Linked DNA regions of Homo sapiens: region 2 is linked to region 1. The links are contacts of gene promoters, found by promoter capture Hi-C in human tissues and cell types (Jung and others, 2019). All regions are on one chromosome and are shown on one strand. The core of a region is centred on a gene start or on the middle of the fragment in contact, and the rest is flanking DNA. Distances in the headings are between cores, read along the strand shown. Region 1 holds the start of ADAMTSL3 (ADAMTS like 3). Region 2 overlaps ADAMTSL3 (ADAMTS like 3).

Region 1 (4,720 bases), core at 629-3,128:
CTAGCGTTCCTAAGTGGAAGAAGGCTGGGATGTGTGTTGCAGAGAAAATACGTAAGTTAGATAAGCTTCATTCAGGCATGAGTTACAGCACTGTAGGCTGTGAGCTCAGTGTTCAGGAATCAACAATAGATGTTAAGTAAGGCGTCTTTAAACAGAAACATGCATAAAATAAGGCAATGTGTTGATTGATTGACAAAAATATTGTGAGCTTGCAGGAACCCAACTCTATATTTCCCCTAGGAACAATGGCTCCATATTCACAAATTCGTTGTTCTGTGACTTTATAGACCACAACTACAGTAAATAAAAAGGATCGATTGTCCATAGATGAGTTAGTTCTAGTTTAGCCCAGCCCTCCCTACCCTTCACTGGCTACTCTTACCTCTCCTGTCTCCACACTGACCTGTCCTCTGCTCACTTGCCACAAGTCCAATCATTTTACATAGAGTGGAGAGACAGCCTTGAAGATCCTCTTCTTGGTCAGAGGAAGTCACCAGAGTAAGTAAGGGAAGAATGAGTGAGGAAAGCAGGCAGGGCCAATTGCTCTTGGCAAAGCTCTAGCAGTAACCGGAACGCAGCAACCACAGAGAAGGCAGGAGAACAACTTTAGGGGTGAACAGTCCAGGCTCTAGAGAGAGGCAGATAGGGGTTCCAGTCCTGGCTTCTCCACTCATGGTGGGCAAGTTATCCTCCCAGCCTCAGATTTATCCTAGGTGAAATGGGATAATGCTCGAACTACTGCTGCTGTGAAGATCAGATAGACACAAAGAGCTTGGTACTCGACAGACACCCAAGGAAATGGCGACTGTGGTAGGACTTAGGTGGGGGCATAATGCAGCCTTTAAGATCAATCTCCTGGCCCTTGGCTTATCCTGCTGGGACTAGGACAAGGACAGGGACAAACATTTCCTTTTACTTCTCCTCACCTCCAGAAGTACACAGGCAACTCACCCCAGTCTCTTGTCCGCGACACTCTTCCCCCCAACCCCAAATCCCAGGCCTGGACACGGCATGATTCTGGCACCTGTGGAGCTCTCAGTTCCCCAAGCCCGGCTCAGACAAGGAGGCGCCAGGTACCCAGTTAAGAGGCGCTCCTGCAAGATCCTCGTGGTCCCTGGCTGCCAAAGGTCCCAGGCCTCTGGGCAGTGAGCGCTCCACAGTCCCTTGTGTGGCGTCTATGCTGCGCGGAGGAGGCGCAGGCCAGGAGAGGGCCATTGGTCTCCACTATGGTCCTGCCTGGCCAGGAGTGCCTATGGCTCTTAGGCACGAGCCAGCGGTTCCGGGCAAACCTCTGTGTGGCTGCTGGGCCTGACTTTGCAGAGCTGGCGCCCGGGTCTGGGCGGGGTGGGTGGAGGCTATGGGAGGTGGGGCCGGGGGTGGGCTCGGGGGGAGCGACGGCATCCCTGCTCCGGCTCCGGCTGAGGCGGGGCGGCCAGGCTGGCTTGCGGCGCAGCGGCCGCCTTTCCCCAGTGCGCCTGCCGGCGGCGGCGGTGGCGGCGTCGGCAATCCCGGCTCTTGGCACAACGCCTGGCGGCCGGCCCAGGGCGAGGAGTGGCTTCCAGGAAGCGGGCGGAGGAGCGTTCCAGCCGAGTCCCGCCGTCGCCGCGGCCCCGCGCGCTCCGAGCGGCCCGGGCCTGGCCCCACACGGCGTCTCTTCGCGCCCCCGGCGCCTCCAGCTCAAGCCGAGGGCGCGGTGCCGGCGCGCAGGCTGACGGGCGCCTGGGCGCGCCGTGCACTTGCCGGGCGGTGCAGGTGGCGGCGCGCGCCCTCCGCCTCTGGGCCGGGGCCAGCGCAGCGCTCTGCGCGCCCGGAGGGGGCGGGAGAGGCGGGGCAGCCCCCGTCCCAGCCCCATTTAACTTCGCGGCGGCGGCGGCGACTGCGGCGCCGCGGGCTGGAGGCCGGCGTCGGGGAAGGTCCTGGTGCCGGATTCCGCACGAGGTGTTGACGGGCGGCTTCTGCCAACTTCTCCCCAGCGCGCGCCGAGCCCGCGCGGCCCCGGGGCTGCACGTCCCAGATACTTCTGCGGCGCAAGGTGGGTGCACCGAGCTCGGCGCAGGGCGGCCCCTCAGGGGTCGGGGGAAGGCGCTCCCCAGAGGGAGTAAGACTTGGAGCAGTGGCCTCTCTAAGCAAGTTGGGGGTCTCCAAGCAGAGTCGGGGCGTGCCACGCGGGCCCCAGGGGGCCTCAGGACTGGGGTGCTCCTCACTGCTGGGCACCTCGGGTCGGGCGCGCTTCGTGCCGTCCCGGAAGGTTCAGGGAGAGTCTTTCGGCGGCAGTTCGCGGGCTGAGGGGCGTTCTTGATTATGGGGGAACTCCACAGGGTTGGAGTTTTTCAGGATTGGGAGTTACTAAGCAGAAACCTCGCGGGTCCGAAGGTCCGGCCGGTTGACCACTGGGTAGCGAGCGCCCAGAACGCCGGGGGTTGAGGCGACGCGCGATCGTGGAAAGTGGGCGTGGGGGTGACCGGGACGCGGCGGAGGCACTGGAGGAGCGACTTCGAGGCAGCGGGTAGTCGGAGGAGTGTGCACTCGGAAGGCTGGTGCGAGCAGGCGAGGGTGGCGCAGAGTCCCAGGGCCCCGCACTGGCCGCCTCCCTTCAGCCAGGAGTCGCCGCCTCAGGTCGGAAACAGCAGCACATTTGCGGATCACATTAGACCAGGCCCTTAATGCCTTCTCCAGATGGAGAGAAGCCACCGACCCGCCCCCGGACACCAGCTCCGCCAAGGCGCCCGCGAGGCGAAGCGGGAGTCGAGTGTGACCTCGGCTTTTCCAGTCTCGACTCATACTGATTTCCCTGTAAATTGACAGGAAAAGTAAGGGAAAAAGTCCCCGCTTCCCTCCTGGTTTCAGCTGACCTCTGCTGGCTGGCCCTCACCTACTTTTAGGAGATTGTGTTAGGCTGGCTCAGGGGCTGTGTCCTCCAAACCTCCCTGAACTTAGCTCTCAGGCGTCTCTCTGGGTGTGGGTCCCGGACCTCGAGGGCGCACGGTGTCATCTAGCGAGGAAAGCCTTGAACTATCAGAAGATCTGCGTTTCAGCCCTAAAATGTCACTATCTTGCTGTGTGACCTTAGGCAGGTCCTTTCCCTCTCTGGGCGGCTTTGTTGTCTTAGACTCATTTTTGCCGCGAGCAGCAGAAGCTAGCCTAAACCTTGGCTCTGTGCTGGCTTCCTGAGTCAAATGCCAATAGCGACACCCTGCTGCTGACAGATAGGCTTGGGCAGGGATATCTCAGCTTCTGAAGAGCTGGAGGTATGAGATGCCCACTGGAGACAGGTCCAGCCCTCGCCTGACTTTGTTGTGGACCTTCTAAAGGGAGCCCAGTTAGCCTGCACCCTGCAGTAGGCAGCGGCAACCTGGGCCAACACAAACCTTTCCAAAATAGTATATGGGCTTCAGGGTCCCTCCATCTAATGGGTCGCTTAAGTCACGGTTTACTGCCATGGGGGCCAGAGCTGGTTGGTAATGAACTCTTTCCTCGTTTGTAGGCTACAACTGAGACCCGGAGGAGACTAGACCCCATGGCTTCCTGGACGAGCCCCTGGTGGGTGCTGATAGGGATGGTCTTCATGCACTCTCCCCTCCCGCAGGTAAGGTCATATAGGGAGGGGAAGGGAAATGGTGGACATCCCTCTGTTTACTCAGAGGCATTATTGTATACCACCTAAGATGTGGCATGATTAGTGTTAATCCTACACCAGAGAACCAGACTTTCTTTCCTATCTCTAGCCAATGGTATTTCTGGTTGGCTTAGCTGTAAGGATTATCCAGATCCCTTGGGTCCTCTCTGAATCCTGAGTAGGGCTTTAATAGCACTGTGGATACCATACACCGGTGATGACCTGGGGCTGTGATGGACCCTGTCATTTCAGACTAGAATGGCTGTCTGCATGTGCCCAGCAGAGGCTGGGTTGCTGGAGACCAGGAAACAATGGGCAGAGCCAGGTTCTGGCCCTAGCTAAGCTGCTAAATAAATATTCTGAGTTTACATCTATCATCACATATCCCACTGTTTTATCCCACAGTCCTCTCTTTAGACTTCTGCTGTCTTTTCCAACCAACTTGAGAGGACCCGGCTCATGAATTGCATCTTTATTTGCCTAAAGGACAGACTCAAACAAAGGAATGAGGCTAGCATTGCCTAAGAGACAATAGAGAGTAACGGAGACAGTGGCAAAGTGCAGAACGCGTGCTCCATCTATTAAGAGCAGTCTCTACTCAATTCCATCTGATCGTTGCTAAGTGGAGACATAAGCCCAGGATTGCCAGATCTTATTTTTCAAGATAGCTGGATCATCTAGACTTCTTACAAAATTTCCCAGTTTTTAAAGTATTGAAAGGCAGATAAATGTGTTTGCAGCCTGGATTCAGCCAAGCAGTTTGCAGCCCCAGATCTAAAGGCAGGGCACATCTTAGTATTGTGTCCCAAGGGCTGCTGCTAGCTCCATACAGTGTCTTATGAATTAGAACAAGGCAATCCCTCCCTGCAGACATAGCTTCTCAAATACATGGCTTGGTGGCCTGTGTACCCTCAGGGTCTCGGAAGGGACTTGTCACTTAAGGGCTTAAATGTCTGTTAAATAAACATGCATCCATGAATGAAGATATATACCCTGGGATAAATTAATCAGACTCCTCTGCCTCTTGTTTCACTTTCTTGGACTTAGTGCCTCTAAAGCCTCTTTTGGCTCCAATGCCCTGTGAATTCTGTGATGCACAAAGAA
Region 2 (4,720 bases), core at 993-3,492, 200 kb after region 1:
AATATTTATATATAAAAATATTTTTAAATTATATATATATATAGAACACTCTTTTAATCACGTCTCCAGCTACGACCCTAATTTTTCACCTACTCTTTATCGCCAAGTCTTGAAAAAACTGTTTACATTTGCTGTCTCTAATTTTTCATCATCAATGTATTCCTCAGATCACAGCTTCCTGTGCCAGCTACTTGATTGAAACTGCTTTGGCAAAGCACATTAACAGTCTCTTTACTGCTCATCCAAAAGGCACTTTTAAGCCCTCATCTGCAGAGCACTTGGTACTCCTGGCTCCTGCCTCCTTAAAATCCTCTGCCTCACAGGATTCTCACTTCATTTCTGGTCAGACCTAGAACTGGGCCGTCTCTTGCAGGACAGTGAAGAAATGCTGAAAAGTTTGTGACTGTGGACCAGTCCTCCCTTTCTGCCCTTTATGACTTGAGTTCTCCCTCTCTATATCCTGCGCCCGTGCTGCTCAAAATGTGGCTCACAGTCTAGCAGTATCAGCATCACCTGGGAGGCTGCTGCTGGTCGGGCACATTCTTGGGCTCCACCCTAAACTGCTGGATCTGAATTTCTATGGGTGGAGCAGGTGTCTGTGTTTTAACAAGTTTTCTAGATGATTCATATTTAGGTAAAATGTTTGGGAAGTACTGCCTTATCAGCGTATCACAGAGACTTCTACAAATGTATGAAACTTTAGTGGAGGGTTACAGAAATGAAAGGGAATTCCAGTTTAGGAGATGATCCTTATAGGCTGCTCCTTGTTCTTAGCTTTGCCTGGGTGCTCGGCAGTGTGCTTTCTCTCCAAGAGTTATATAGTAGGCAGCTCCACCCAGAAGAACATTTTCCTCAAGTTTGAGGCTTTTTGGCTAAAATCAACTGCAAGGGATTTGATTTGCAGGGTTTCATTAAAGTGTGTAATTATCAATGGGACAATGGTTGGAATATACACATATATGCACACACACCCCTAGACAAATGCTTCCCCAAGATACCACAGCCTACATTCACAAAGATTTTGCAAGAGAGCCCAACCAATATGCCCAAATAGGTTTTCTTCAGTTCAGTAAAGCTTTCTAATTTATATGTATTTTCAAAACAATTTTTATTACATATATAATATGCTGTATATGTGTTGTAAAAAAAATCCAGAATATCCAGGCAAGGAAATTGACAAACATGTCATGTATTCAATCACACTGCCAAGAGATTACATGTGTTATCATATTAGTGTGTATCCTTCCGGGGATGAGGTGAAGTGGTTGAGGATGCATAACATATATTGATAATTTATATTGTAAAATTAATACATACTTTTTATAAAACTTAAAAAGTTTTTTAAACTTACAAAAACTTCAAATGGCACAGAAGGATATAAAATGGAAAGTAAATGTCACCCTCTACCATCCACAAACTCCTAACCAGTTCCACTTTTTAGAGGTCTAAACAGGATGAATGGTTGCTTCTATTAAGATATTTCCTATGGATGTGTATGTGTGCACCTTTCCATACAAACATGTATGCTTTTGAGAAGTATACAGAATTGATCATTAGGTATAAACTTTTTTACAATTTCTTTTTATTCACTGAGGTTTTTTTGCCTATCAGTTCTCATAATTTGGCTTGTTTTTTTTGTTTTTGAGATGGAGTCTTGCTCTGTCGCCCAGGCTGGTGTTCAGTGGTATGGTCTCGGCTCACTATGACCCCCGCCTCCTGGGTTCAAGCAATTCTCATGCCTCAACCTCCTGAGTAGCTGGGATTGTAGGTGCCAGCCACCATGCCTGGATAATTTTTGTATTTTTTAGTAGAGACAGGGTTTCACCATGTTGGCCAGGCTGGTCTTGAACTCCTGACCTCAAGTGATCCACCCGCCTCAGCCTCTTAAAGTGCTGGGATTACAGGCGTGAGCCACTGCACCCAGTTGGCTTGTTTTTTAACTGGTGATATAAAAGGACATTACATAATTTATTTAACCAGACTCATATCAATGAGCATTTAGATTTTCTCTCAGTGTTACAACAACTTTGTACTTTTGTGCAAGCATGTCTTTATGTGCTTTTAGTTCTCAAAGATACTGTAATTTCTCTTCTCTCTTCATAATCTTCTTGACATTTTGATTTTTCTGTGAACTAGTTTTTCAAGTGTCTGATCAATTCTCCTGCTAATTTGTGTTTTTTTCTTACTGATTTGTAAACACTCTGGATATTAAGAAAACAGTCTTTGCCTATAATTATAATTTTTCCTTCTTTGACATTTAATTTTGCTTAATTTTTATTTCAAATGATTAATATTTTCCTTCGATTTTCTCAAGGCATTTTTTTATATCTTGAGAGAGAGAGATTTAAATGTTGTTTTTGTAGGTTGTGTCCATTTTTGGGGGGCTGGAAATGGAGTCTCACTCTGTCGCCCAGGCTGGAATGCAGTGGCGTGATCTTGGCTCACTGCAACCTCTGCCTCCTGGGTTCAAGTGATTCTCCAGCCTCAGCCTCCTGAGTAGCTGGGATTACAGGCACCCACCACGCCCAGCTAAATTTTGTGTTTTTTAGTAGAAATGGGGTTTCGCCATGTTGGCCAGGCTGGTCTTGAACTCCTGACCTCAGGTGATCCTCCCGCCTTAGCTTCCCAAAGTGCTAGGATTACAGGCATGAGCCACCATGCGCAGCCGGTTGTGCCCATTTTTTAAAAGTTCATTCCAACATATTCTATCTTTTCTCTAGCCATTGCAAATGGGGCATTTTCTTCCATTATTTTTCTAAATGATTATTCTTGGTATTTCTAAAATCTAATAATTTTTTAATATTAATTTCTTCTTGATTTCCAATGTTTAGACTATTTTTTTCTTGCCTAATTACCTTGGCTAATCTTTTAAAAACTCTTCAGTCATACGGTGCTGACTGGTATCCCATCATTTCCCCAATTAAACAGCAGTGTTTCTAATGTTTAAGCATTAAGCATATTAATCATGACTTGCATTTATAAATGGTGTTACAAACATTTACTTTATTTTATATACAGAATTTTTATCAGGAATAATGACTGAATTTTACTAAATGCTGGAAACTTATTTGAGGTAATCAAACTTTTCTACTTTGTCTATTAATATAGTAAATTACATTAGTAGGTTTCCTAAATTTGAGCAACACTAGCATTTGTTGGGTAAACTTCATTTGTATATAGTGCATAATTCAAATTTATGATTAAATTTTCTTTTCAAATATTTTACTTAGGAATTTGGTATCAAATAGATGTTAATGACATTGGAATGTAGTTTTATCTCCAAAATTGTACTGTGTAAAATTTTCAAGCATACATAAAAGTTGATAAAATAACACAATTCACTACTGTACATTTTTTCAACTAGATTCACTAATTACTTATATTTTGCTACATTGGTTCATTATCCCTATCACTCTATCTCTATCTATCTATCTATCTATCTATCTATCTATCTATCTATCTATCTATCTAATTCCTCCATCCAACTAGCTAGCTGACCCTTGTTAATTTACAGACATCACAACACTTACTTCTAAGTATTAATACTTTAGCATGACTCTTCTAAAAATAAGGATCTTCTTCATAACATCATCTCACTAGTACACCTAAAAAATTATAATTTCTAAATATTATCTAATATCCAATCTATGTTAAAATTTCTCCTTTTATAGTTGTTTTTCCCCTTGAACTGGTCAAGGCTCACTCATTGCATTTAGTTTTTCTATCTCTTTAGTTTCTTTTTTTTTAGTGCACTTATTTTTTCATGGTATCGACTTTGTAAAGAGTTCATTCCAGTTGTATTTTAGCATGTCCCATATTCTGGATTTGTCTAATCCAGACAAAATTTGTTAATTTGATTAATTTGTTGATCTCCCTCACGTAATTCCTGTGAATTGATCAGCAAGGTCTTAGGTTTAATTAGAATTGGATTGAACATTTGTGGCAGCAGCACATCAAAAGTGATGCGTGATTTATGTTGCATCATATCAGGAAGTTGATGATGTCAGCTTGATCCAGTATTACTCACACAGGTGGTGAACTACACATACTGTGTTGTATAGATCCATGTTTCCCTGTAAGAAATCTGCAGAGTGATGCCTTGACAACGTGTAAATATTCTGGCTTGCAACAGTCTTTCACACAATGGCTTTAGTGTACATTGATGATCCTTGCCTGAAACAGTATTTAACACAGAGAGTTGCAAACGGTTATTTTCTAATTCTATCATTCCTTCTTCACTCATTCTTCTGTTTTTAAAAAAAGGTTTCTGTTTCTTAATTTCTCACTCTGTATTCAGAGATTTTTATTTATTTAATGTTTTATATGTTACTGACAATATTCTTTTTGGGTTTCAAATTGTCCAAAATGTAGCCAGTGGGAGCACTTTAAACTGTCTTCTTTTGTCATAATTCCATTGAATTTTAGACATTGCCTTGGTTTCTAGAGCAACAGGTGTTCCAAGCCCACCTTGAATTTTCCCTACTCCAGACCTGGCATTACCTGGTTTTTCATGGAGAGTTGGTTATTTTTAGTGGACTTTGTGTGTGTGTGTGTCTGTGTGTGTGTGCATATGTGTCTATGTTGGGTTACACCTTCAACACTCAGCCAAGGTAATTGACAACTTTGTTCTGGCCTTTACTTCCTGCTTCCTTAGAGTCTGTAGGTTAGCCATAGATGACAGCTTAGGACCTTCTCAGGTTGTTTCTGGGCATGCACAAAG

What was found. Contacts are between HindIII fragments. The study calls those that stand out against the background at their distance.
Region 2: a fragment that was not itself captured here is called in contact with the fragment with the promoter of ADAMTSL3 in region 1 in 1 of the 25 tissues and cell types used here (IMR-90 fibroblasts).

What each region holds. Positions count from the first base shown.
Region 1 is chr15:83,652,245-83,656,964 of GRCh38, forward strand. ADAMTSL3 (ADAMTS like 3) reads left to right here and starts at 1,879. Exons shown (of 30, transcript NM_207517.3): 1 at 1,879-2,032; 2 at 3,485-3,586. The coding sequence starts at 3,518. RefSeq lists an enhancer at 348-517. The HindIII fragment of the contact is 6,298 bases long and covers 1-2,756 here.
Region 2 is chr15:83,850,488-83,855,207 of GRCh38, forward strand. All of the region lies in intron 7 of ADAMTSL3 (ADAMTS like 3), which reads left to right. Among named protein-coding and RNA genes, the nearest start is that of ADAMTSL3, 200 kb to the left of the region's middle. The HindIII fragment of the contact is 8,624 bases long and covers 1-4,720 here.